Linked DNA regions of Homo sapiens: region 2 is linked to region 1. The links are contacts of gene promoters, found by promoter capture Hi-C in human tissues and cell types (Jung and others, 2019). All regions are on one chromosome and are shown on one strand. Each heading gives the region's core, a stretch centred on a gene start or on the middle of the fragment in contact. The rest is flanking DNA. Distances are from core to core; before and after follow the strand shown.

Region 1 (6,706 bases), core at 2,544-5,043:
TTTTGTTCCTGTCGGAGGAGCAATGCCTGATATTAGAAACCACTTAAAAGTCACGCCCTTCCAGCAGGAACAGTCATGGACTGTCACTCATCCAAAACCCAGCAAAGCCAACAAGCCCCTTCCCCAAATCGTCCAAAGGTGAACCCAAGAGCCAAGCCAGGTTATTGCTATATAAACATCTGTTAGAGAAGCAAACTTGGCCAAGGAATGTATGAGCTTCAAGAGTCACTCCGGACCTGCGTAGCAGGGGTGGGGGCAGGGGATACACTTATCTGTTTATCCATTAATTTGTTTACGTAGAGGGAGGATTTGGAGATGCTTATACAGTAAATATAAGCAGCTTATACAGTAATTATAATACAATGCTTATACAGTAAATACAATGCTTATACAGTAAATATAAGCAGCCATCACAAAACACAAAATGACACCCCAGAATCAACCGCGGTAGGAAAGACATTTCCCTGTCTCCTGTAGGATGGGTCAGTTAAGGGGCCGAGGGGGATCAGATAGAACTCAAATTGGTCCTGCTGAGCCTGGAGCCTGAGCACGCAGAGGGGTGAGCTAGGCAGTCGCTGTCGGAGCCCCCATCATCCCTTCCAGCCTGGACCATTCTGAGACGGAGGTTTGGAGTTACAGGTGTGTGAGCGCCAGAGGGTGAGAGGGGTCACTCGCTCGGAATGTAAGAGCTCCCGCCTGCTGGGAATGGGGAGGAGTCGTCGATGGCCCCAGGATCCGTGCCCAGACATTTCCAGAGGCGCACCGGCTGGTTCAGCACCCCACCGTCATCCGCGCAAAAGCTGCATCCCTCGAGGTCCTGGAGGGAAGCCATTTCCTTAAAGCGCGCGCAGAGCCAGGATAGAGTTTCCTACGAAGGACCGTCCCCCTGAGGTTCCTCCATTAACAGCGCCCCCGGCCTTGCCCACCGCAGCGGCCCCACCAAAGCGCCAACACATTTCAAAATGGAGCGAAATCGCAGAAGCGCGGAGTGCGCTTTGTTCCCAGCATTGGGCTAAATGCGCTCATCCCCACCGGGCTCCCTTTCCTCCAAAGGCAGGAGGTGACATCTCTGCTCGCGAGATGGCAATACGTAGCCGTGGCCGCGGGCTCCCCTTTTCCGGGGCCACCCCGAGACCCTCGCTCCATCTGGAAGGGGAACCCCGCGCCCAGCTCTGTCTGGGGGCGAGGGAGGAGAGACGATGCTTGAATCGATCCCTGAGCCGCTCTGCAACCCCTCGCGGCGGGCCCAGCCATGCGAGGAGCCTCGCAGTACCCAGGCTCCAGCCCTCTACGCCACCGTCAAGGAGGGTCGGCCTGGTCCCGGGCGGGCAGCCAAGCCATTCCCCAGAAATTCAGATCAACCTGGGCGACCCGCGTGGAGGATTCAGCTCCTAGATGCTCTTCCGTCTCAGAAGTGCGCCCCCCGCACCAGTTTTCAGCGATAGAATTAACCAGAAAACCGTGCGTACCAGGTTCATCACAGGAGGGCGAGGCATGGATTCGTTGGCCAGGAGTTCCCCCTGCCGCCCCAGACTCGGTTTTGGGGGCGCGGTGAACTTGGACACGGGTGAAATTTATTTAAGATAAATAATATTAATCAGTACGGACATAATATTAATAAAAATACACCCAGGGCCGCCTATCTGCGTGTCTGCGGCCTCCAGGGGCCAATCAGAAACAGCCTCAGGCGCGGGGGTTCGGGGCTTCCTCCCGTGTCCTCCAGGAGGCCGACTGGGCGCGGCTCCCCCTACCCCAGGGTCCCCAATCTCCGCAGGGAAGGGGTGAGGCCAGCCCCAAGATCCCCTCTCCGGACACCTGTGGTTTCCATGGCAATCCCCCCTCTGCGCCCAGTCCAGTGGGCTCAGAAAGATGGGTGTGGCCGAAGCACCAGTAACCTTATGCCCCTTCCTCACATTCTCCGGCCAGGCGAAGCAACAGGGCGTAAAGCCGGAGAGGCCCCGCCAGGGCTCCCCACCCATCCCCGGATGGGTAGCCAGCGTCCCTCGCTGGGCAACCTGGTGTGGCGTGGCCCTCAGGACACTTGGGGTGTAGGGAGGGGCGAGATCCCTCTGCCGCCGCCCGCAGCGCGCACGGAGACTCGAATCCCATCCCTTCAGAAGCTTCCCGGCGCCGGCAGACTCCGAGACGAGGCTGCGCGCGGTCACGCCCGTTCCATGCGTGCCGGGGGTCGGGGGGTTGACTCGAGTTCATCGAACCCAGCAAGCCTCGAGATCCAACAATGGGCTCGGAAATGAGGAGCGAAAAAGGAAAGAGAGGCGCATGGGCGTAGGGGGGAGGTTGACTGAACACCCTCAGAATAAAAGCCAGAAACCAGGGCTGGGAGCGCAGATCACGTAACCTCTACAGACAAAGCAAAGAGCCCCCGAAGAAGGTGCTGGGCGAACGCCCCCAGTGCTCACGCCCGCAGCAGCAAAACGCCAAGATTTCAGCGCTGATTGTCCCCCTCCCTTTAATGCCAGGCCCCGCCCTGTCCTATGAAGCCCGGCCACCCGGTTTGGCATGGCACCGTAAAGACGTGACACGCCGAAAAAAGATGGCACCTCGCGTTCCGAGGGGGAAAAAAAGGGGGGCTGGGGGCGGGAGTGGGAGGAGGCACAGCCTATCCTCCCCCTTCCTCGCCCACCAGGGTCCACACCCACTGCCGCAGTGAGGGGCGAGCCCTGCGCGCCAGCCCCGCGCCTCCGGCAGGGAGCGCACACGCCGGGCGCCCTGCGCTCCGAGCGCTGAGAAAGAAATCCGCCCCGAGATGCACCTGCAGCCCCGCGCCCATCCGTGCGTGGCTGCGGCTGTGCGTGCCCGCGAACGGGGACCAGCGGCCGCCGAGTCCGTCCACATCGCCAGGCCAGGTGAACCCTGCCTTTGCGAGCGTGCACAGTGGGATCCGCGCACTGTTCTCAGGCACGGCGCTGCTCGCGTCTCTGTGCCAGGCGTGCGCAGGGGGAAGGGCAACTAAAGTGACAGCGCGTGGACCCCTCCCCATCTCCTCGATTTCTCCCAGCCCCCAAATGTCCCCTACGGGTTTCTGAAGGAGGAAAAGGGGAGGGGGCCGGCCCCCGCCTAAAATCAGGGGCAGTGAAGGCCCTGTCGGAATCACTGCTCGGGAGGTGCAGGGAGGGGCGTGCAGGGAGTCATCTTTTCTAGAACCCGATCCACGTCTTTCTTAGAGCTGATGGCGAACAGCGGCAGGGACAGCGGATTTCAGATTCGGTTTCGGGGGTCGTTATCGGACCCCTCCACACACACACACACACACACACACACACACACACACACACACGCCCATTGCGGCAAAAGGCTGCAGTCGAGAGTGAAGGGCAGCCCCCTCCCCCAAGTCACCGCCGCCGCGCCCCACCCTGCCGGCACAGCCTCCACCTGGGGTCTGCGCGAATCTGGTGGTGAAGACCCTCCAGCACACACACACGCGCGCACTCACGCGTGCGTGCATCCCTTGCTCAGGTCCCTTTCCAGGCCGCCCTGGCCCCAGCCCCCGAGCAGGGGAGGCAGGGAGGGGCCCTGCGGTGGCCCCGACCGATGCCCGGCGCACGAAGCCCCAGTCTGCGGAGAGGGAGGGCGAGGGGCGGCGGCGCAGGGGTGCACAGAGGCGGACGGCGAGGCAGATTTCGGAGCCGCGGCGCTTACCTGATAGTCGACAGAGGCGAGGACGGGAGAGGACAGCGGAGGAGGAGAAGGTGGCTGTGGTGGCGGCGGCAGAAGGTGGGCGGTGGCAGCGGCGCTGCTGTTGGTGCCGGAGCTGGTGGGTGGCGGTGACTGCGAGGGCGCGCGCCGGCGAAGAGGGCGCGTTCCTGAGGCCGGCGGGCGGCGCAGGCGCGAGCAGCGGGAACGCGAGCCTCCCCAGGGGAGGGGGCGGGCAGCGCGGCCTCCGCGGGAGCCTTCTCCTCCGGCCACTAGTGGGCGCGCGCGAGCGCCCTGCCGCTCGGCCGTCCGGCGTCTCCCGGCTCGTTCCTCTCGGCGCTGCCCTTTCGCGGTCCCCCTCCCGCTACGCCTCAGGCCGCGGCGCTGACCGCAGCGCGCACGCGCGTTCCGTGGCGCACGCGCTTTCTCCACCTCCTGTAGTTGGAGTCTTTGTGTCGTTGCGGGGGTGGGTGTCCTCCTTCGGGCCATGCGGGGTCGGGGCAAGGCCAGTGGCTCCGCCGCTGGGTCCGCTGCCCTTTACTTTCAGTCAGCCTGGGGCGGTGTCCTCTCCTACAGAAGTCCTGAGCGGCCTTCCACGTGGCCGGCCCTCGAGTCCGTCCGCCCCGACCCTTCGTAGTCCCGAAACCGCCCCCCTGGCTAAGGTCTCTTTCCCCCAGGCTGCTTCCTTTCTCCTTGCTTTTTTCCCACCTTTTTTGTTACTGACCAAGGTGAATCCTTTCCTTAACAAATCGGCTTAAAGCAAGCTAACTCAGTTACAATACAGTAGAACTGTACTTAAAAAAAAAGAAACGTGAATCTAACCGTTACGTCAGAAAAAAAAATCTTAAATTAGACGAATTTCAAACAGTGCTTAACACATCGCAGAGCATTTGCAGTTATTTGTATCACGTCTTTTGAAACACCTTTATGCTGTAAATAGAGCTTGAAGTCTGAATGTTTAAGGGCCAGCTAGAGATTGTCCCCTGGAAGACGCACCTCAGCCTGAAACTGACCAGTGGTCCTCATTCTGCTGGTCGCCCAGGCCCCAGGCTTCGGCCTTAGCTTGGATTTTTCATTTCCCCAACATCAAGTTTAAGCCCAAGCAGTGGGATGATTTCTATGTAGGGGGGTTTAGGGCAGCCATCTCCTCCTAGGGAGATGGGAAGTTGTCTTGAAGCTCCAATTTGCATAGCTCTTATATTCTTTTTAAAAAATCAACATATGTTATAGATTAATAGAAAAAGCAAGTAAAATGCTTTATTCACACAGTTTCTGGAACTGACCTTTTTCTCCTTTTTTTTTTTAAATGCATATTAACTTTATTTTTAAACAGAGGGGCATATACCCAAAGAAGTAGGAGTGAGAACCACCATGGGGGCTTGCTCAAAGCAATCTGCCCTAGCCTTCTGACTACAGAATGTCTCATGAGCCAATGGCCTGGAGATGGAGCTGCCCCTTGATGGTGTACACCTTAGAAAAGTCAGTGGAATTGACCTTTTTTTGGAGACAAGGTCTTGCTCAGGCTGGAGTGCAGTGGCACAATCGTAGCTCACGGCAAGCTTGAACTCCTGGGGCTCAAGCAATCTTCCCACCTCAGCCTTCTGAGTTGCTGGGACTACAGGTGGGCACCACCACACCTGGCTAACTTTTTTTTTTTTTTTTTTTTAGAGAGGAGGTCTTGCAGTGTTGCCCAGGCTGCTTTCTAACTCCCACCTCAGCCTCCCAAAGCGTTGGGATTACAGGCATGAGCCACTGCACTCAGCCTGGAATTGACTTTTTGTTGTTGTTGTTCTAACTGCCACCATCCTAGTTCAAGACCTCTATCTTGGTTCTGGACATGTAGGGACCTTAGTGATCTCCTTGCTCTCCAGTTTCTCCCTATATCAGCCCACCCTGCAACCCCTAGTTAGATCAGTATTCAGAAGTGATCATTTTATTTATTTATTTTTGGTTTTTTGTGTGTGTTTGTTTTGTTTTTTTGAGATGGAGTCTCGCTCTGTTGCCCAGGCTGGAGTGCAGTGGCACGATCTCGGCTCACTGCAACCTGTTTCCCGGGTTCAAGCGATTTTCCTGTCTCAGCCTCCCAGCTACTGGGATTACAGGCATATGCCACCACTCCCGGCTAATTTTTGTATTTTTAGTAGGACGGGATTTCACCATGTTGGCCAGGCTGGTCTCGATCTCCTGACCTCAGGTGACCCAAGCTCCTCAGCCTCCCAAAGTGCTGGGATTACAGGTGTGAGCCACCACACCTGGCCCAGATCATTTTAATTATGTCACTCTCTTGCTCAAAAATATGTAAAAGCTTCTAACTGCCTCCTAAATTAAGTTCAACCCCTTAGTTTAGCTTTCAAGTGTCCCCCCAATGCCCCAACCCCCCATCATCTGAGCCCTTGTCCTCCCATTTTCTTTCCCACCTACTCTGTAGCCAGCTGAAGTGGCTTGACTAGAACTCTTTTTCCACCTCTGTAATTCTGAGGTTTTCCTTTGCCTACAAAGGTCCTTGTTCTTTCTTCACCCACCAGTAGTCTACCTAACCTTCAAACTCTAGCTCAAATTTTACCAAAGCCTTCCCTAATCACCCCAACTGGAAGGGACATTTCCAGTCTCTAGAAGGAGTTCAGCAAAATTACTCTTCTTCTTTCTGAAAGTGGGAAGGGGGTGCAGTCAATATCCGTCTTGCAGCATTGAAATGTGGTTATTGTCCCCAATAGTGTCCCCTTTTTTTGGTGTGGGGATTATACATACTTGTCCATTACCATTTACATGATGTAGACATTCCAAATAGGCGCTTCAAGAGCATTGCAAGGTTCTACCACTTTTACTCTTCCTTTCCGCCACCAGAATGGCGTGGCTCCAGAGAGCTGTTCCTTCAGCTTAGATCTCAGGAAGGAAAAACTCGAGGAAGTACATGTCACATGAGCAAGAAATAAACATTTGGGGCTGGGCGCAGTGGCTCATGCCTGTAATCCCAGCACTTTGGGAGGCTGAGGTGGGTGGATCGCTTGAGGTCAGGAGTTCAAGGCCAGCCTGAGCAACATGGTGAAATCCC
Region 2 (6,706 bases), core at 2,858-5,357, 580 kb after region 1:
CTGGCTGACGTAGCAAAACCCCATCTCTACTAAAAATATAAAAATTAGCCGGGCATGGTGGTGCACACCTATAGTCCCAGCTACTCAGGAGGCTGAGGCACGAGAATCACTTGAACCCAAGAGGAGGAGGATGCAGTGAGCTGAGGTCGCGCCACTGCACTCCAGCCTGGGTGACACAGGGAGACTCCATCTCAAAAAAAAAAAAAAAAAAAAAAAATCTCATCTTGTAGCTCCCACAATTCCGTGTTGTGCAAGGGACCCAGTGGGAGATAATTGAATCACTGGAGCAGTTTCTCCCATACTGTTCTCATGGTAGTGCGTAAGTCTCATGAAATCTGATGTTTTTGTAAGGGTTTCCCCTTCACTTGGCTCTCATCATTCTCTCTTGTCTGCTGTCATGTAAGACATGCCTTTTGCCTTCTGCCATGATTGTGAGGCCTCCCCAGCCACATGGAACTGTGACTCCATTACACCTCTTTCCTTTATAAATTACCCCATCTCAGCTATGTCTTTATCAGCAGCGTGAAAACAGGCGAATACAAGCCCCGTCCCCCAACAATGAATTATCCAACCCCAAATGTCTATAGTGCCAGGCTGAGAAACCCTGGCCTAGAGGGAACATTCAGTGAGGTTATGCACATGAAGTACTCTAAGTCTATCTGGCTTACTTTTTGTAAAGTATCAGAAAACAAGCTGCGATTCTTTCGGAATAGCACAGTCTTAACGCTATTTCCAGACCTGAAATGGATGGGGTGTGAGAACCCTTGAGTACTGAGAACCTAGTTCACTGCTCCAGGTGTGAGTCATCCTGTAAATGTCAATTTCTTGTATTTAAAGCAGAGCTGAGGCTGCACAAGTGACTCAAGGCCAGAAGCTTTCCCAGGTTGTCTTGACTTAAGCTTGGAGGAAGTAATCTCGTCCCGAAGCTCTCCTTCCAGAGGGTGCAAGCATTTCAAGACTCAGAGACACCACACTGCTCACTCTGGGTAGGTGTATTGTTTCTCACCTCACCCACACACAGTGGGGCTTGGAAAGACCTCAGAAAAGTAGCTGAAACGGAGAGGCCTTGCTTATCCCGAATATCTTCCTTACCAGTGTTTAGTGGTTTGCTCCTCCCCTGCAACCTGATGTGACATTCCTTCTCCAGAGTTACAGTTTTGAGTCAACACAGTTCACTGTCTCTGATTAATACACATTAATGTTCAGGGACGGACTTAAAGACAGATCATCTTGATGGGGTAGGTGGGAGTGTACAGGGGACCCAGGACCAGAGGTGTCAAGGGAACCTGGGCAAAGTACAGAGACACTGGGTGTTTTAAAGAAGGAATAGTGAAAGAGAGAGAAGGCAAAGGCAAGCCAGGGAGTGTCTGCAGACTCTGGAGGTGTGCCCACATCTTTCCTGAGAAGTGGTGTGCCCAGAGGCAAACAGGTGGTGGGAGAGGCAATAAGGGCATCCAAGATTGCCGATACCAACCTGTACATCTGGCCAAGCTCTGCCTTTCCCTGAGTCACTGAAATGCAAAACCCTAGGGGTGGAAAGAGATTTGGGGGCCACCAGTCCAGCTTCTTTCTTGTCTGCCATCTCCCAGCTAGTCAGTGGCAGAGCCAGGGTGGGCGCCAGAGACTGTTTGGCTCTAAAGCACGGACTCTACGGGAGCCACAACCTCAAATGCTCCAGGGGCCAGACAGGTGACATAAGGTTAGATGGTTGGGTGGCGGGAACTGTAAGGAACCGCAGGCTCTGCTCTAAGGCATTCAAATTCAAATTTAAAAAAATATTGGGCCAGCCAAACAAAGCATATTTCTGGCCTGGGTGAGTGAATGAGGCCCTCAGGTTGTGAGTTTTTGACCACTGCCTAAATAAATGGTCTTCCCTATTCCCCAGCAGAGATGACTGTTTGGCACAGATATCCAGAAAGAAGAGTTCAGCTTCGGACTGTCTGCAAAGTAGTCTCAAGCAGATGGTGGTCTTTGCTCAAACACTTCCAGAGATGGGGTGTTCCTTACTTTTCAAGACAGCCTTGGGTGGGGCCTGCCTATCCCCGGACTAGAGCCACTCACCACACCTACCATGGACCCTTCATGGAAGTGGGATGCCCAGGGTAGGAGTACATCTTTTATTTTGCAATAAAAAAAAAAGTTTGGATTTTTTTTTTAAAGGACTGCCTCACTCTGTTACCCAGGCTGGAGTGCAGTGGCACGATCATGGCTCACTGTAACCTCAGACTCTCAGCCTCCCCTCTAGCTGGGACTGCAAGTGCAAACTACCACGCCTGGCTATTCTTTTATTTTTTTGCAAGGACGAGGTCCTTGCTATATTGCCCAGGATGTTCTCCAACTCCTGGCCTCAAGCGATCCTCCTGCCTTTGCCTCCCAAAAGCGCTGGGATTACAGGAGTGAGCCACCGTGCCTGGCCTGGAATTTATTACAAATAAAATACAAGCTCAGTGTGGAAACACTAGATAATACAGAGGGGCAAAAGTTAGAAAAAGTTTCTATACCTTCCCTACTCCCCACCCCCGACCCCCATTCAGAAAGAAGCACTGTTGACACTTCAATGCATATTCTGAACTCCAGGTCCTTTCTTTGCATACATCAAGCTCTCATCCTCTTGCTGGCTCTGTGGTCTGCAAACCCAGAGAGCAGATGCTTTGCTCAGCGCTCGTACCACGCCACGCACCCACATGCTCTCTTTGTACCTGGGTTTCAACCCACAGGTCGGGCCCCTGTAAGCCCTTGGCTCCCCAAGCTTCTCGAGGGCAGGCACTGTAACCTTCTTTACTCATTCCAGGGATTCTACAGGACCAGGCACACGGTAAGAGCTCAATAAAAACGTCTCTACCCCCACCACCTCCCGCCTCAGCCGCCACCGCTTGGCAGCAGAGAGGAAGCGGAACGCGCGCGACCCACGAGGGAGAGCGCCTCGCTGTCTCCAAGGTAACCGAAGTCAGTGGCAGGGAGTGCCCACGCATGCGCACACTCGCCCTTCCTTCCCGTAACCTCGAGAACGCAGCTGGTAAGACTGCCAGAAGCCGAGGGCGCATGTGTGGTTCCACCAACACCCTAGTCGCCTCCGCCTTCTGTCAGTCCGCCCGCCCAGCGATCTCCCTTCTACAAACATCGTCCGGAAATAGTGCCCATTTCTGGAAACCAGGCCTCGTTAACCAATCGTTGCTAGGGAGCGGGAAGACGGGCTTGCCGGGACGACCGTCTCATTGGTTGGCGTAGGGGAGTGGGCGGGGCCACGGGTCGCGGTGCGGCCAAAGAAAGGAGGCGCGAAGCGAGGCAAAGTTACAGCCTCCGGGGGAGGCGTGGCCCCGGGGGCGGCCGAGAAGGCGAGGGGGCGGAGCCCGGGACCGGGGCGGGGCGACCACGGGCCGGGAGCTCAGCGGTCGGCGGCCGGCGGCGGGAGATCGCGGGCGAGCGGAGCGCAACACTCGCTTGGTTGGGGAGATCGGCGCTTGGCCGGTAGGTGACGGGGCGGGACCCTGGGGCCCGGTGCGAGGCGACCAGGGAGCGGCTGGGATGGATCGCCTCTCAGCCCCGGGCTGGGCTGCGGCCTGGCCCCTCGCCCCGGAGCAGTGGGGTCGGCGGCCAGGCCAGCGCAGTCCGACGTACCCCGTCCAACCCACTCGCAGCGGTCCGCGGGCGCGCCCTCGCACGCGCTGCCGGTGCCGCGCTCGCCCCGGGCCTCCAGGCCGCGCACTCCTGCTGGCCACACGCTGGCTCCGAGCGCGCGCAGGGGCCGCCTGCTTCCCCTTCACTAGTGCCCCGCGCCGCCGCCAGGCCCGCCCGCCTGCTCTGCGCCCCAGTGCCCCCAGGATGGAGCTCGCCTGCCGCGGGGCGGACGTGTCTCCTGCAGGAGTGCGCCCTGGCATCTGCCCTGGCGTGAAACCCTCCCGGCCTTTCATGGGAAGTTCTCAGGTCACACCTCAAGGCGGGGAGCAGGAGCTAAGCCTGTCCTCAGCATGCAGCGGGGCAGTGCTGGCCGCCCGCAGCATCCTCCCTCCGCCCTCGGACCCCAGTCCTCCTCTGTAATTCTTCTGGGCTCTCCAACTCGGGACTTTATCTGTCGGTTCAAATATAACATTCCCATCTTGGAAACCCATCGTGGCCCTGGCATCTTGCAGCCACTGGGCACCAGGCAGAGAGGGGCCACTTGTACGTACGTTTCCCACCTGCCCGGGAGCCTCCTTAGTGCTGGGTAGCTTCAGAAAAAGTGTTTCCTTCCTAGTCGAGGTTAAAAAGTTGCTCTCGGCCCTAAAGGGTGGACTGGAGGTATGAATGAGGGAGAGGATAAGTGGTGAAAAGGTACATACATCAGCAAAGTAAATGGTAAAACTACTTTTGATCGCTGGAGACAATGAACACCAATGACTTAATTAAGGACTTTAAAAGCACATGAAATTAAATGATTAGAGTGAGGTCATGATATAAAATAGGAGTCTGGAGTTTATTCCAAGAAAAATGTTGGAAACCCCTTGACTAGAAACATGGTCTTTCTGAAAGATTAGAAGGAGACAGTATCTTAACATTAGTGATGTGTTTTTTGCTTAGTGTCTTCATACCTGTGAGCTCCGTTTTCCTTCAGATGGCTGTGTGGTAAGACAGATTGTAGTGTCTTGTTTTATGGGCGAGGCACCTGAGGCAGGTGTGTATGAGGGAGTGGGGGTGGTATATATCTTGCCTGATGCCTCATAGCTGGGACTAAGGATGGGTCTTTCCCAGAATCCTAGATCAGGACCACATTATAGAACTGAGATGCAGAAAGGAGGGAGAAGTTTTTGGTGTGGTTTTTATGCTCTTAATGTGAGAGGACACTTAAAAAGTGCTTGCCTTACTTTGGTTGTGTTTGGATTTACTCTTGGTGTTTTTTAAGTGATATCAATCAGTTTCTTTGGAGCGATGCCAGACCTCTGAATTTTTCAGACACCTTTCGGACATCCTTATTTATTTTGAAGGGTGTGGAGAACTTCTCAGAAGATCTCAAAATAAAAGTAATCGTCTCTGACTCTAATTTTAGAGATAAGTACCCAGGTATGTGTACCAGCTCTTTGTGAAATCAGACAGCAAGACGCTGCCAAGCTTCAGGCCATCTTCTGAGTGTTTTCTGATTATAAGAAGCAGTTCTGAAGGGGGTTTTTTGTCATTGGTATTGTCTGTTAAGAGTTTGTGGGAGCGGCACCACAGAGACCCTGCCAAATCAGTCTCCCTCTATTAAACAAAAATGTCTGGTTGGGCTGTTTCGCCTCAACAGATGAAGGTTTGGTTCCTCATTTTGGTTCTCCTGTTGAACACTGACTCCTTTGTGATCTGCCTGGAATATGTGTATATCATTTACTGCTGAGAAGATGGCTTGCGCTGATTGGTTGTCCAGCCCTCGGCAACTGTTGTGATTTTTTTTTTTTTTTTGGTGATTGATAACAGTTCATCCCTGGCTAGGGTCTGGTGAGAGATCTGCGGAGATGTGAAAGAGATGAAAGCTTTATCCAGGGTTGTTTTCTTCGTTGTTGGCACCCTCTGAACAGTGTTGTATCACTTTGGCCTGTGAAGGCACTTTTAACTTCCTATTTTTTTTCCTGTCTCAATGGACAGCACATGGGCTTTCCTAACAAGCCTGCCTGCCTCGATGAAGAGCTGACAGATTCATATTGGTTGGTTTGACAGATGTTCTTTCTGGGGGGAAAGTTCAGAAATCTTAAAAGCAAAGTCAGTCCTAAGTAAAAAGTCTAAGTCAGCCCAATACGCATAAAGGCAGCGTACTTCTACTAATGGCTTCCATCATCTCAAGGTTGTTTTTTTTTTTTTCCTGGCAAAAGGTTAAAATGCAACTAAAATTCTGCTTTCGTGATTAATAAGTCACTACCACAGTTGTGTCTGATGCTTCCTGTTTGCCCCATTTTAGTATTTCAGTTAAACTGGAAACATCTGAGCATTATGGGCACTATTGATGGCACCAGTGTGAAATTGGTGGGCCGGGGACAATTCCATGTCAGTGGATTTAGGGAGCTCTAAGGATGTCAGCCCCTCTGGTCTCCACACACCAGGATTCCCTAGTAAGGGAACAGAATGGGGCTGAGCATCTGCAAGAGCTGGGTGGGCATTCAAAGTGATGCATGTGTGAAGGTTTTGCATTTACTCGGTGATGCTGGCTAAAATGCTGAAAGTAGTAGCCCAAAAAGGGAAGGCCAGACGTAGGGCAAATTGTAGGGGAGCATTTCTGTTGAGCTGAGCAGGACATTGAAGTATGAGATTTTTTTGTTCTGGGCTTATGACTGCCTGAATGACAATGCAGAAAAAGTCATTTTTCTTCAGTGGCCGGTGTGCTCTTTGTATTCTAGTTTAAAGGAGCCTCTTCCCTTCTTGCTTTTCTACATGTCTTAATCCCTCAGCTCCCTGATAGAAATCCCTTGAAATTATGTGGCATCAAGAATAATTTTATGGCCAGTCTTTGTATTTTCACACCATACTCATGTGAAGAAGGGCAGGGACAAAGATCAGAAAAGTGAAGCCTCATAAGGAGAAACAGACAGGATTGCTCAGAATCTAAACCCCCTTTTCTTGATATCTAGGTCACTGCTTTTTCTACTACCTTGCTCATGAAACGATAAGGATTTTCTTCCCCCAAACATGTCAATTTTGAACATAACGAAACCAGGGTAGCAGCTTTATTTATTTATTGTACCAATCAATTATTAATTGATAT

What was found. Contacts are between HindIII fragments. The study calls those that stand out against the background at their distance.
Region 2: a fragment that was not itself captured here is called in contact with the fragment with the promoter of MAPT in region 1 in 1 of the 25 tissues and cell types used here (aorta).

The regions. Positions count from the first base shown.
Region 1 is chr17:45,891,641-45,898,346 of GRCh38, reverse strand. It overlaps MAPT (microtubule associated protein tau), which reads right to left and starts at 3,793. Exons shown (of 13, transcript NM_001377265.1): 1 at 3,661-3,793. It overlaps MAPT-AS1 (MAPT antisense RNA 1), which reads left to right and starts at 2,834. Exons shown (of 2, transcript NR_024559.1): 1 at 2,834-2,867. MAPT-IT1 (MAPT intronic transcript 1) reads right to left here and starts at 2,564. Exons shown (of 1, transcript NR_024560.1): 1 at 1-2,564. RefSeq lists enhancers at 308-1,192, 2,079-2,964, 2,965-3,850. The HindIII fragment of the contact is 9,010 bases long and covers 1-5,586 here.
Region 2 is chr17:45,313,722-45,320,427 of GRCh38, reverse strand. It overlaps MAP3K14 (mitogen-activated protein kinase kinase kinase 14), which reads left to right and starts at 3,408. Exons shown (of 16, transcript NM_003954.5): 1 at 3,408-3,468. The HindIII fragment of the contact is 4,566 bases long and covers 1,825-6,390 here.